Linked DNA regions of Homo sapiens: all the other regions are linked to region 3. The links are contacts of gene promoters, found by promoter capture Hi-C in human tissues and cell types (Jung and others, 2019). All regions are on one chromosome and are shown on one strand. The core of a region is centred on a gene start or on the middle of the fragment in contact, and the rest is flanking DNA. Distances in the headings are between cores, read along the strand shown. Region 1 overlaps SLC25A13 (solute carrier family 25 member 13). Region 2 overlaps SLC25A13 (solute carrier family 25 member 13). Region 3 holds the start of DLX5 (distal-less homeobox 5).

Region 1 (4,328 bases), core at 684-3,183, 850 kb before region 3:
CTGAAATTTATCCTTCTCACCATAAATTTAGTAATGCATTGTGAACGGCAAAAAACAGAAGGGAAAACCCCGTATTTAAGACTACAAAGAAGGCAACAAGTAGCTATTTGTTCAGCAAACATTTACCAAATGCCTTCTCTGTCTGCCTGGTACTGAGAGGAACTGGGATGAACACAGTGAGACTGGTGCCTCCCCGCTAAGAAGCTCAGAGTTTAGAGGGAAAGGGAACGCTAGTTGTCTCCACCTGCCAGATGGGGGACAAACCACCTAACAACAGCAGGTGCTGCATACCAGACCCCAGGGGCATCACAGGACTATGAGAACCCAGTGGAGAGAACCAGTTCTTCTGCCTGCAGGAGGGGAAAAAACATCAAAGAAGAGGAGATATTTGCCCTGGGACTTCAAGGGTGAGCAGAGGTTCCCCGGAAAGATGAGACAATGAGCAGAATGGAGGGCAAGGTGACCCAGGCAGAGGAAACAGTTGGTGTGCAAAGGCACCAACATCTTAAGGCTATGGCATGGAGTCAGGGCACTGGAGGCTGTGCTTGGATCACAGAAGACCAGATAATAAATAACAATATTATTAATAGTAGTGATAATGACAACAGCCAATATTTGGGGAGCACTCGCTATATCCACATACTACAGTACTGTGTGTTTTATGTGAATGAACACATTTAATCCACACAATACCTTACTTAAACAGTGGCTTTTGTTTTATCCACAGCAACTGAAGAAGAAACTGAGGCCGACTTTAAGGGAGCTGCCCATGGTGGCTCAGCTGTTTGATGGGGGAACGGGGTTCCACCCAGGCTGTCCGACTCCAGCCTGTGCTCTTACCTGGTACGCTGCACAACTTCTCTCCCAGGCCCACTAAGGAGCATGCACCAAATTCTGTAGATGCATGGGGTGGCTTTTAGGGTAAAAAGTAAAGTTCAAAAAGTAAAAAGTTCTAGAGGCAGGTGAAGGATAGTTTGCAAGAGCAGAGACCTGAGGAAGCTAGAGAAACTAGGAGTTTAAGGTAATATATTAGAGGCCCCGAGCTTCCTTATATTAAATGATTAACTTCAACTTAGAATAAAACCAAAGCACAAATCCATTCCTAAGACCTAGGCCAGATGCTGCCACTCACGGAAGTTGTTGATAAGAACCATTCTTGTAGTGACTACCTTGTCTGGTTAAACAGGAAAATGAAGGTGACTGGATTATAATCTGAGGCCCACTACAGATGTGGGCCTTGAAAACATGAGTCTTGGGTAAATGGTCTTTGTAAGAAGGTCATGATCTGTGAAACAATGAAAAGTCAAAGAGGTGGGAATTCCAAACTCCCTCCTTGTACCTTGACCTCAGAGGGAGGAGAGGTAGCACAGCCCAGTAATGCCTAAAGCAGAGAGTCTAGGTGAGGCACTTCATCACAACCACAATTAAGTCTAAAGTGCATATATATCTGACATCTGGGTAATTCAGCAGAAAAATCAGGTTTCTAATATAAGATGTTTCTGTTGGGTCCTGGAAATTCACTTTAACCATTTGAAACAGAGAATGGATGTGTGTGTTGTTTCTAACTTGTCAAAACAGCAGTCCATTTTCCAACTGCCTCAAAAGAAATTTATTAGTGTGGTTAGTTTTCCAATCTTCTCCTTTTAGTTCAGCTCCATCAGCACATATGGCAATGCTTCCTTGGCAACTCGACTCTACCAGAAGGCTGCTAATGCGAGAAAAGATTTACAGGGTACAGTATTAATGTAGTATTTTGTCTTCACATTTCATGGGTTGGAGATATAAATCACACTATCCCCTCTGAATTCAGTCCCTTGCGCAAACCAAGGAGCTGAAGGTGTGGGGACCAAGCCCAGATCAGGGGTCTCCAACTCAAGCTTCACAGGACATCCCCAAAAGAGGTTCCTGGGCCCACTGTGTTCAACTAGAGGGCTAGCATGCTATTCTTAAGAACCTGTTAGAAATATAACTGGAATTTCAGGGTTGGAAGGGATTATGAAAGAAACTCAATATTGCTGGCCTAATTTAAACTAATTTTAGGCTATTTCCAACGGGCTGGCAGCAAAATGAACAATCTAGGGCATGGGCTTTGGAGGTGGACAGACCTGGGCTAGAATGCTAGGTCTGTGCATCTTTCACACTGAGTGATCTTGGGTAGTAATTCTTTGAATTCTAGGTTCCCTCTTGGCAAAACAAGGGTGCTACTTACTATCTATTGGTTTATTTTGATAATTATATGAATAAGTGTACAAAGAACCAGACACTATTTACCTCATATGTTATGTATTCCAAAAGACATAATGCTTCTTTCTACCTATCTTTTCAATACATAGCCTTGATTTCTTTTGTTTGCAAGAGGCAATTCAGCCTGAATCATGTTCACAGTCCACCATTAGCTAAGGAGTATCATGCTGTGCCCATGACATTATGCCTATCTTAGAACAGCTGTCCCCAAGCAGTGAGAGCACATGTGGTCTGGAAGTGTCCAGGGGCCCTGTATACTTTGGGCAAGGTAAAGTAGTGGCACAGACAAAACAACACATTTCAACTATGTTATTAAGCTGAAATAAAATATTATAGTTAAAAACTTAAATGATCCTTAACCTCTGCTGACAAGCAACTTTTCACAATGTAATTTCTACCAGGTGACAAAAGAGCCAAGTGATTAGGAACACGAGGTCTGGAGCCAGGCTGCTGAGCTTCAATTCTGACTTTGCTATTTGTTAGCTGTGTAATTGTGGACAAGTTACCTAATCTCTTTGTATCTTAGTTTCCACATCTGTAGAATGGGAATAATCATGATGCCATTTTCACGGGGTAGTCGTGAAGATGAAATGAGTTAACACTCACAAAATCCTCAGACCAGTACCAAGTACAGACAGTAAAGACTACAGAAATGGATTTTTGTTGTTGTTGTTGATCTTCATCATCACTATCACTTATTCTTCCTCCTCCTCCTTCATGGAAACTGGAATCCAGACAGGCTAAGCAGCTTGTTTCAAGTCACTAACTTCTGAGCGACTATGTAGTAGCACTCAAAGTTGAATTCAGGCCTGCCAGTACTCTCAAATCAGGGCTCTGTGCTCCTTAATTCTCTGCGGTACCAGTTTTCTCTAACAGACTTACTGCTCCAAGTTCCTCCTCTGCCCTGGAAAGGCATTTCTTCCCAACTAGACTGTTCTGAAACTTTTCTCTAGGCCTCAGCTCAGGCTGGGTCAGCACCCTGCCCTGCCTGACCCTTGTACACAACAAAGGGATGGTGCCCATGTAGCAGGCATCCACATCATGCTTCCCCCGTCTCTACAGATGGTGAATATTAGACTCCTTAAAACCTCGAAGGCACTGAATGTCAGAGCCAAGCTGTAGGTTATAACCTGGTGAACCAGTGAGAGCAGGAATATACTGGGAAGAAGGCGCAGGGTCAGGAGTGGGTTGAAGCCACGCTGAGCGGCTACTGTAACCCAGAGTGGCCAGGGTGCCAAAGGACCACGCTGGGCAACGCTAGCAGGACCACAGAGGTGGAGGGGCTACTACCAAGGAAGAAACTTGGTAACTAAGGCAGTAGTTACCAGTTCTATCTCAGCATAGAACTGAGACAGGGGCCAGCCCAAACCAGAGAAAGACAGCTGAGAGCATCTAATAGAGGGCAGAAGGTATTCAGGGCAGAGACGAGCAGTAAACTTTGGAAGGAAAAATTAATCCAGAAGACACCCCTATTCCTGTAGCTGAAGCCACAGCCAGCACACTGTTGTGTTATCTAGTTTCCACCTGGTAGCAACCCCTCCGATGTCAAATTCTTACCCTTCTGACCTCACTATTGAAACCAGAACACTTGTCCCTATCTTCCCCGAGAAACCCCTTTGCTTTCAACATCAGATTAACCTTCATTCTGCAGCTATCAGCACTTTGTGTGCCCTGCCTTAGAGCTTTTTATTCCTGCTCCTGTTGCCATGCCCTTCTCTCTTCACTTGCTCAAGCATTCTTTCCTCCCTCCTCCTCCTCCCATTTGTCTGTCTGCTTTTGACTCAGATTGCCCCTAGGCATGAGGCATTTCCACCTTCCCAACTACACTATCGCCTTTCAAAGCCTTCATTACAACCCAGTTCTGACAGGCTCTTTGGGCTGCTACCCCAAGGTGGCTGTACAGTGGAGCTGGGGAAATAGCCAGGGACAAATGCAGAAATGAAGATTTAAATGCCAGTTTATCTAGGTTAAATTATTTACACTCAAAATTTCAAGCACTGTCTGTTATCTTAGCTATGGCTCAGGATGCCTTTGGGAGACAAAGTGTTAAAACATAAAATAAGTGATTATGATTATGGTCTGGA
Region 2 (3,736 bases), core at 87-2,586, 780 kb before region 3:
GCTTTAAAAACCTATTAAAGATTTTTATTGGCAATTTTACTGTATCGTTATCACAAATTTGGCCTATAAATATCACCTCTGCATATATCACTGCCTCCATATTGGCAAAAGTATATATATATATATATAGGCTCTCGTAATTGTGAGCTTAACTCAGTAAGTGATCTGTCCATACTGCCAGCTCTACTTGGCAGCCCATCGCCTTGCAGCTGACTCCAAACAGCAGTCAAGTTGCCCAAGGCTGACTGTGCCAACCAGGGGGATTTACTGGGGTATTCTTATACCTCCAACATTCTCTTTCTTATAAGATGGATCAAGCACATTTGACAGGTATGATTCATCCCTTTTCTAGTTCTCACTTGCTAGTACGTAGTTAATTCAAGTAACACTAGAAAATGTCTTTACTCTTCCTATACCCCATTTATTCTTTCCCTCCCTGTAAAATAACCATTACTCAATGAGATGAGGAGAATCTGCCCCAGTGTCCTTGCCACCTCCCTCAACCTCTCTTTTAACCTTCAAGTCACAAAAATGCTCCGATCACGGCCAATCCCTACAAAGATGATTCTACATCAAGGAAAAGAACCACTACAAGCCTACAAGCTTTTAAAACTAGAGACAAATCATATTCACCATCTCCACAATTCTTTAGATAAATATCCTTTATTTCTTAAATACTAGTAGACATCATTTAAAAACCCCGAAAAGCTATCTTATTATACTACATTGTTCCTATTTTGTATAATTACCAACACTGAGAGCAGAATTTAATAATGTGCATGACAAATAGTCTGCATTTTAATTACATCATGGATATTTTGAGATCTACCAAAGACTTCTTTTTAAAGGAAAAGTCTACTAAGTTTAAACAAACAAAAAACACCATAAATACCTCATTTTAAATTACGTATTGCCTTCAAAGCAGGAGGAAATCAAAAGAGGTAAAGAAAGACCATTGAGGAAAAAAGGGAAAAGTAATTGTAAACCATGATGGAAAACTGATTAAGGCAAATAAAGCAGATTTAAAAACCTAGGTTTCCTAAATCTTTCTTTGTTCTACTAATTAAGGCTGGATAAAAAGGTCTCAATGTTATTAAAATGGCAAATGAAGAAGGATAGTGGGGAAACCACAAATAAGAAATCAGTAACTGAAAAGCCAGCAGGCATATGAATTTGTCAGCGTATACTGGCCTACACTATATAAAGCAGCATGTTGGTTTATTCTCATTACCACTGGATAACCAGGTACTTTGAATGCACCCAAGGACAGAAAGACTGGCCTGCATGCAAGGGCACACACTGCCAAATCCTTCACTTCTCTAACCATAGTCTCCAGTTTGATCATTCCCTTGATTTAGGGCTGAAAAGCACAAAAGTACCTACAGGGTACCGAAGGCACAGCCCAAGGAACAGAATGTTCCCATACATACTTTTAGTTAATGCCCATATTACCTATGTTTGTTCTCAGCTCAAATAACATTTTAAAATACCAAAAATTGATTGAGCTAAACGATTTTTTAATTGGAACACAATGCCTTTCTCAATAGGTTTTTCTGAATCTCTGAAGCAAGGTAATGATGATTAAAACAATATTCTAAAACGAACAAAAGGCACATAAGCATAGGCACACAAAAAGTGACAAGAACATGCTATTTTCTTGCATCTGCCGTTGATCAATTCCTAGTTTGTCACTGTTAAAAAAATAAAAATACATCAGCAGTAAACTAAAATTTTTAAAAAATACATGAAATCAAAATTATACTGATTCCTCTTTGAGAAACATTATCAATTACTCGGGAACATTTTGGCATTTTCTTTCATTCAACTGTAATTCCTACATTTTGGATACACACAAAACCTCTCTTGATGTGACTGTAATAAAAGTCCCTGGCAAAGCAAAAATTAAATGACTGAAATAGCCCTTATCATTTTAAGAAATAAAATTATTCATGGTGTGGGCAAGAAGAAATAAAAATACCCAGGCTTGAGCCAGAATATCACAAAAAAAAGCCAACATTAATATCTGCTGTGCCAGCTGAATTCAAATTAACCCAATTTTTACATGTTAATTAAACCAGCTATTTTCTTCTTATTGTATTTTTGCTTCTTAAATAGTAGAGTCTACAAGTGATTCCCAACAGACTTGTTCCAACAACAATGACGTATTCATTTACTTCTATTATGACCATACAATACAGTAACTGAGCAGTAATTTTTCACAGTCAATTACATGTGTGGTTCTTTATGCTTAAAGATGCTGAAATAATGTGTACTATAGAGCCATATGCCCGAATCTCTAGTCTGCCAGAGGCAGTTGCCTGGGTAACACATTTTCTCTCCGGTTTAGCATAACCCTTCACTGAATATCATTAGGTGTCATTAAATAGCAAACATTAACATGAACTTCAATATACTACTTAGATAGAGTCATTTTACCCATGTAAACAAGTGTTCCATCATTTATCTAAGCTTAAAATAGATTATGATTTTCTGTATTTAAGACCATAAAAAAGAAAAAAAAAGTGCCCATGTGTTGATTTCAGATTGAATTTGCAGAAATTTCTGATGACGTAAGAGAACTCAGACCAAGTTTCAGAATAACATTTCATAATATTATGGTCATAATATTCAATGTAAGCAAAGAAAGATTAGGCTTTAAAATGTACTCGATCCTATAAAATAATTCCATCAATTGTATCTCAGATGAAAGATTATTGTACCCTCTTTAATAAGGACTAGGGAGAATGCACTCAAATTCGGCAACAAAATGAACTTAAAGAATAAGGTGCTTAAAAATCAAGGTATATAGGAATAAATACAAAGTATGGGATCCATTGTGCATTATCTAAAATTTTTTTACAGCTTTATTGACATATAATTGACAAAAATTGTATACATTTAAAGTGTACAATGTGTTATTTTTATATACATATACATTGAAAAATGATTATCACAATCAAGCTAATTAACACATGCACCACATAGTTGTCTCATATAGTTAAAATATTTTAAATGTTCAAAATTTAATGAAGTACTATATGGTTTAGATGTGGCAATATATAGTTTATACAGGGTGTTCTAGAGCAATGTCTGCATTGAGAGTAGCAGCTGGGAAAAAAAAAAAAAAAAGAAAGAGTAGCCGCTGTCTCAAATACTCTCCATCAGCCTACACCACCCCAAACAAGCATCCACATCTAAGAAAAACAATGTGCTTTTTCTACAGTCTCAACAGTCCTAATCCTATTACCACTCCCAAACCAAGGAATTATGATGTTTCTGAGATACATCATAATTTCAGATGAACCTAAATTCAGCCTATAAGCAATCACAGCTTTTCCTCTATCATCCACATTACAAAGGGGCTCCAAATTGTCAATGTTAATTTTAAAGGACACATATAAAAAGAAAATGAATCATCAAATGGCACTACTACCCGAATTTATTTTCTTACCACTCCTAGTATAGGAGAAGGGTAGATTCTAAAATCCTGGCAGCAAGGGCAGGGGGACTCATAGAAGTTCAGGGGCAGCATCAAAGCTGTCCACAGTCAACTTAGAATAACAAAAGAGAGAGGGTGGCCAAGAATAAATGAGTTCTTCTTGGTTATGGGGAATGAGATTCCAGATACTACTACGATGATGAAGTGGAATTTTTTTTCTTTTTCTTGCACCTGTTTCCTAATGCAAAATAAGAAAGAAACAGCCACACAAAATGGTGCAACTTGGACTTAGGTACC
Region 3 (3,916 bases), core at 395-2,894:
GGTCAGGATGAGATTCTCACTGTCATGAGTATGGGTTTGGGCGGGAGGGGGAGGGATTGCCAAACGCGTGTTGTACAAACCTGCCCTGGGGCTACAACTCCCCTTCCTCAAAACTACCACCCCTCTGGAACTGACGGAGAACCTCTCCAGGGTGTGTGTGTGTGTGTGTGTGTGTGTGTGTGTGTGTGTCAAGTTCCAGGGAGAAGTGTGGAGGATGAGGGCTGTGGTCTCAATTCTGCCAGAGTAGGGGATGCTAATATTAGCAGGATTATTAATGTGCTGGTGGGAAGAGATCAAACCTTACCAATAAAACCTCTCCGCCGAGCCTCATGCCTTTCTCTTACCGCCCAAGCTCACTAACCCTCTTAAACTCTCTAAGTAAGTTTCAAAGCGGACGAAAAAGGAGGACGGAAAGACAAATTGTGGGCGCCTATGGAGACAGAAAAAAAAATCTATCCTACAACGTGACCCCTCAGCAACCCTCCTCCACCTTTAAATGGCTTTTTGTTTTTGGAAATGCCTGGATAAACCGCAAAACTCTCGGCGCGCTCTTCTCTGGCTGGCTACAACTCCTTAACCCCCCCACCCCCACCCAGCGTGCTCAGGGCACCCGCACCGTGCTAGCTTGTGGCGGCTCTCAAACTAATCCTGACTGAGTTTTTGAGGCAGCCTTCTATTCCCACTCGCACCAACCCAGCACGCTTACCAAAATTCCCAAGTAACCTTCTCTTTGTTACGCAAACGCCAGGAGCTGCTTGATTCTTTCTTCTCTCCACCCCTATCCCCTTTCCAGCCTAGCCGGCTTCCTGGCCGGGCAAGCTGGGAATTCAGCGACTGAAGGGCCTTGGAAGGTGCCGGAGGGGAGAGACGCTAGTTCGAACCTCCACAGGGCTCTCCTACTAAAAATCCCTAAAATGCTGGCCCGAGAAACTCTCTTTGTTGGAGGGTCTGAGTCCTACTCCCTTCTGCCGCGTGCGCCCCCACTGCCGTGAACCGCTGTGACCCCCAATCTACCACCCCATCTCGCGCCCCCAGCGTCCTAGTCGCCCTGTATCTGCCCAGCCTTCCCCCTGTCCATGTACCTGGCTGGTTGGTGGCGCTTGGGACGCGGTTGTAGGCGCCGCCGTACTGGTGGTAGGAGCTAGCGTAGCTATAGTCGGCATAAGCTTTGGCTGGGTAGCTCCCGGCGGAGCCGTTCACGCCGTGATACTGATACTGGTAGGGGTTGAGAGCTTTGCCATAGGAAGCCGAGGTAGGAGAGCAGTAGCCGTGCGGGGCTCCCCCCGTAGGGCTGTAGTAGTCAGAATCGGTAGCTGAAGACTCGGGCAAAGTTGGCGATTCCTGAGACGGATGGTGCATAGCTGCGGACGTCTGGAACGGAGCTTGGAAGTCGCCGGATCGGATGCTGGGGACCCTTCTGTCAAACACTCCTGTCATCGCTCACGGGCGGCGGCAGCGGCTGTCCTTGCTGTTGTGGCGGCGGCAGCTGCCCTAGTTGGCTGTGGGGCTGCTCTGGTCTAAGCAGACATGGCTGTGGGAGCGAGGGAGGAGGAGGAAGAGGAGGAGGAGAGAAGGAGGAGGCGGCGGCCGCGGCGAGGAGGAGACTGGGAGTCGTGAAGTCTCTGTCTCCGGCCGGCTGACTGCTGGCTGAGGCGCAGCACAGCCTTGGTTAAATCCTTAATTGCGCGCTTACGCACAGCGGGGTGGATCTGGTTCTATTGGCCAGGGCCTCGGGAGCAACAGTAACACCCTAACTCGTCCAACTAGTTTTAGCACAACAAAGCATTGCTTAAAAAGGGGGTGGGGGGTACTGAGGGGGTGTGTGTGTTTGTGTGTGTGCGCGCCCGCGCGCTTGTGTGTGTTTTTGCTTGTTGTGGAGTGGGGAGGGGTCTTAGTCTATCTGTTTTTAGTAAATTCCAAAGACATCGCAGAAGCCACAGCACAAGGCTCTGTGATGTCTGGGGACAATGTGTTCCAATCAGAAGCCTCAAAAGTGCACATGTTTTGGGAATGAGGTGGGCGACCATCTTTCCTTGCTTCCCACTACCCCGCCCCCGTGGGCTGCACCAAAGGCGAGTGTAGAATTAAACACTGATACTGAAATAGGGAGTCAAGGTGCAGGGAGTGGGGAGCGGGGGGATGTAGGATGGAGGCAAGAAGGAAGGGAAACAGCATTTTTTTTTTTTTTAGTGGAGTGTTGGGAAGCAAGTTGTAACTTACATGTTTTGAAAATTTGCTCTTTGGGGAAAGAGGCAACTTCCTTTGCAGGAGATGAGTATCTCCCGGACGCGGGCTGGACAGGAATGCCCAAGAAGGCACAATGTCCATTAAGCCGGTGAATGGCAGGGAGAGTTCCTGCAGCCCAAAGTCCTTATAATGACTTTTAAAAATTACTGTCTTAAACACATATAACTTAAGGAAGCCCAAATCCTCGTTGCTGGCTTGCAAAAAGAGCCAAACAGCTCCACTTCTGTTTAATATTTTCATCTATTTTCAAGACATTGGAATAAAGGCTCTTTAACTATGTTCAGTGGCCAAAGACTCCCGCAAAGGTGAATGGATCCATGTATAACCTGCCATACCTCCAGGAAAGAATGGGAAAGTCTCGGAAGTGGGGAAGGAGACAAGGATCAAAGCCTTTGCAAAGTCAGATGATGCTCATTGATTTCCCCCTCCTGGCTCCATGAATGTGGCCCAGTCTCTCCATTTCCCAGACCCGGGTTTCTGTACCCTCTCCCCTTTATTTCCTGCTGCAAAGACATCCTACTTAGCTCGTATGCAAGGGAAGAAAGGATTCAAGAATCATTCAGTTGATACACGAGATCTAAACTTTGCTCTTCAGGAGGTGCTATCCTTGTTCTAGTCGTGATTCAGCTGGGAGTTTAGAAATTCAGCATAAAAGTCTCTCCCAATCCCCATTGTTACTCCCCTCAAATAGGCAACTCCGCGGACTAGATCCTGATTTGGGGCCTTCCTACATCTTCCTTTACGGGGTCCAAGACCGGCAATCTGGGAGTTCCACAGGCTATCTAGGGTTATCTGGCCTCCCCTCCGTTTTCCCTCCTACCGAAGAAGAAAGCGTCTGTGTTAGTTGTGTCTAGTATTAGTTTAGCCTTACTTGGAGTGTGGAGCCACTCGGCCTAAAACAGGCCGACGGGTAGAGGTAGGGTGTCTGGAACTCAGAGCAAGATACAGCCCCGCTCAGGAACTCCAAAGCAGAGCTGCCGTGCGTGCACCAACTCCCTGCCTTTGCGGTCTGGACTGCACCAGAAAAACACAGCTATTGTCGCACTTCCTTTCGGGGGAAACTTCAGCACCGGGAGACTGGCGCCCAGCAGCATTCTCCTTCTCCCACTGGCCCGAGTCACGAGCTTTGGGCCTGGGCTGCCGCGGGCTTCTCTGAGATAGACTTCGGGGTAAACAGAGCTGCAGCTGCCAGCCAGCCCTGACTTGACGCTGTCGATTACCGACAGGCTGTTAACCGTCTAGATGTAGGCTGTGAGGAGCTAAAGAACAGGAGGGAAACATGGGTCTGCGGTCCTGGGCTCTGCTCTGGAGAAGTTATCGGCGCCCATCGAGTCACCTGATACACACTGCCATTTAATTACAGAAATCGCTTCCTCAGATCAATGCCAAGGACAGTTCAAAGCACCTCCCGGCAAAGACAAGTGGGCAGGGAGCCAGGCCTCCCTTCCTCTGGTCCCCTATCTTCGACACTTTTGGTTAAATAGAGATTTGAGTTACCACATGGTTATACTGAACAGGGTGTTCCTAGCAATGCCCTTACACCTTGCTGAGATGGCAGATTCTAACCAGGATGGGATTGGAAGCTGCAGAATTGGGGCAAAATTTAGAAGTTCGGGATCCGATTGAAAATAATGTTACAATGTCAAATTAGTTCTAGACCTTGCTAAAT

What was found. The method cuts DNA at HindIII sites, captures the fragments that hold promoters and counts their contacts. A contact is called where the count stands out against the background at its distance.
Region 1: a contact is called between a fragment that was not itself captured here and the fragment with the promoter of DLX5 in region 3, in 1 of the 25 tissues and cell types used here (H1 embryonic stem cells).
Region 2: a fragment that was not itself captured here is called in contact with the fragment with the promoter of DLX5 in region 3 in 2 of the 25 tissues and cell types used here (H1 embryonic stem cells and heart right ventricle).

The regions. Positions count from the first base shown.
Region 1 is chr7:96,174,788-96,179,115 of GRCh38, forward strand. All of the region lies in intron 11 of SLC25A13 (solute carrier family 25 member 13), which reads right to left. Among named protein-coding and RNA genes, the nearest start is that of MIR591, 43 kb to the right of the region's middle. The HindIII fragment of the contact is 3,366 bases long and covers 251-3,616 here.
Region 2 is chr7:96,244,846-96,248,581 of GRCh38, forward strand. All of the region lies in intron 3 of SLC25A13 (solute carrier family 25 member 13), which reads right to left. Among named protein-coding and RNA genes, the nearest start is that of MIR591, 27 kb to the left of the region's middle. RefSeq lists an enhancer at 690-3,736. The HindIII fragment of the contact is 4,605 bases long and covers 1-3,639 here.
Region 3 is chr7:97,023,187-97,027,102 of GRCh38, forward strand. DLX5 (distal-less homeobox 5) reads right to left here and starts at 1,645. Exons shown (of 3, transcript NM_005221.6): 1 at 1,083-1,645. The coding sequence starts at 1,437. RefSeq lists enhancers at 1,151-1,867, 2,794-3,309. The HindIII fragment of the contact is 6,057 bases long and covers 190-3,916 here.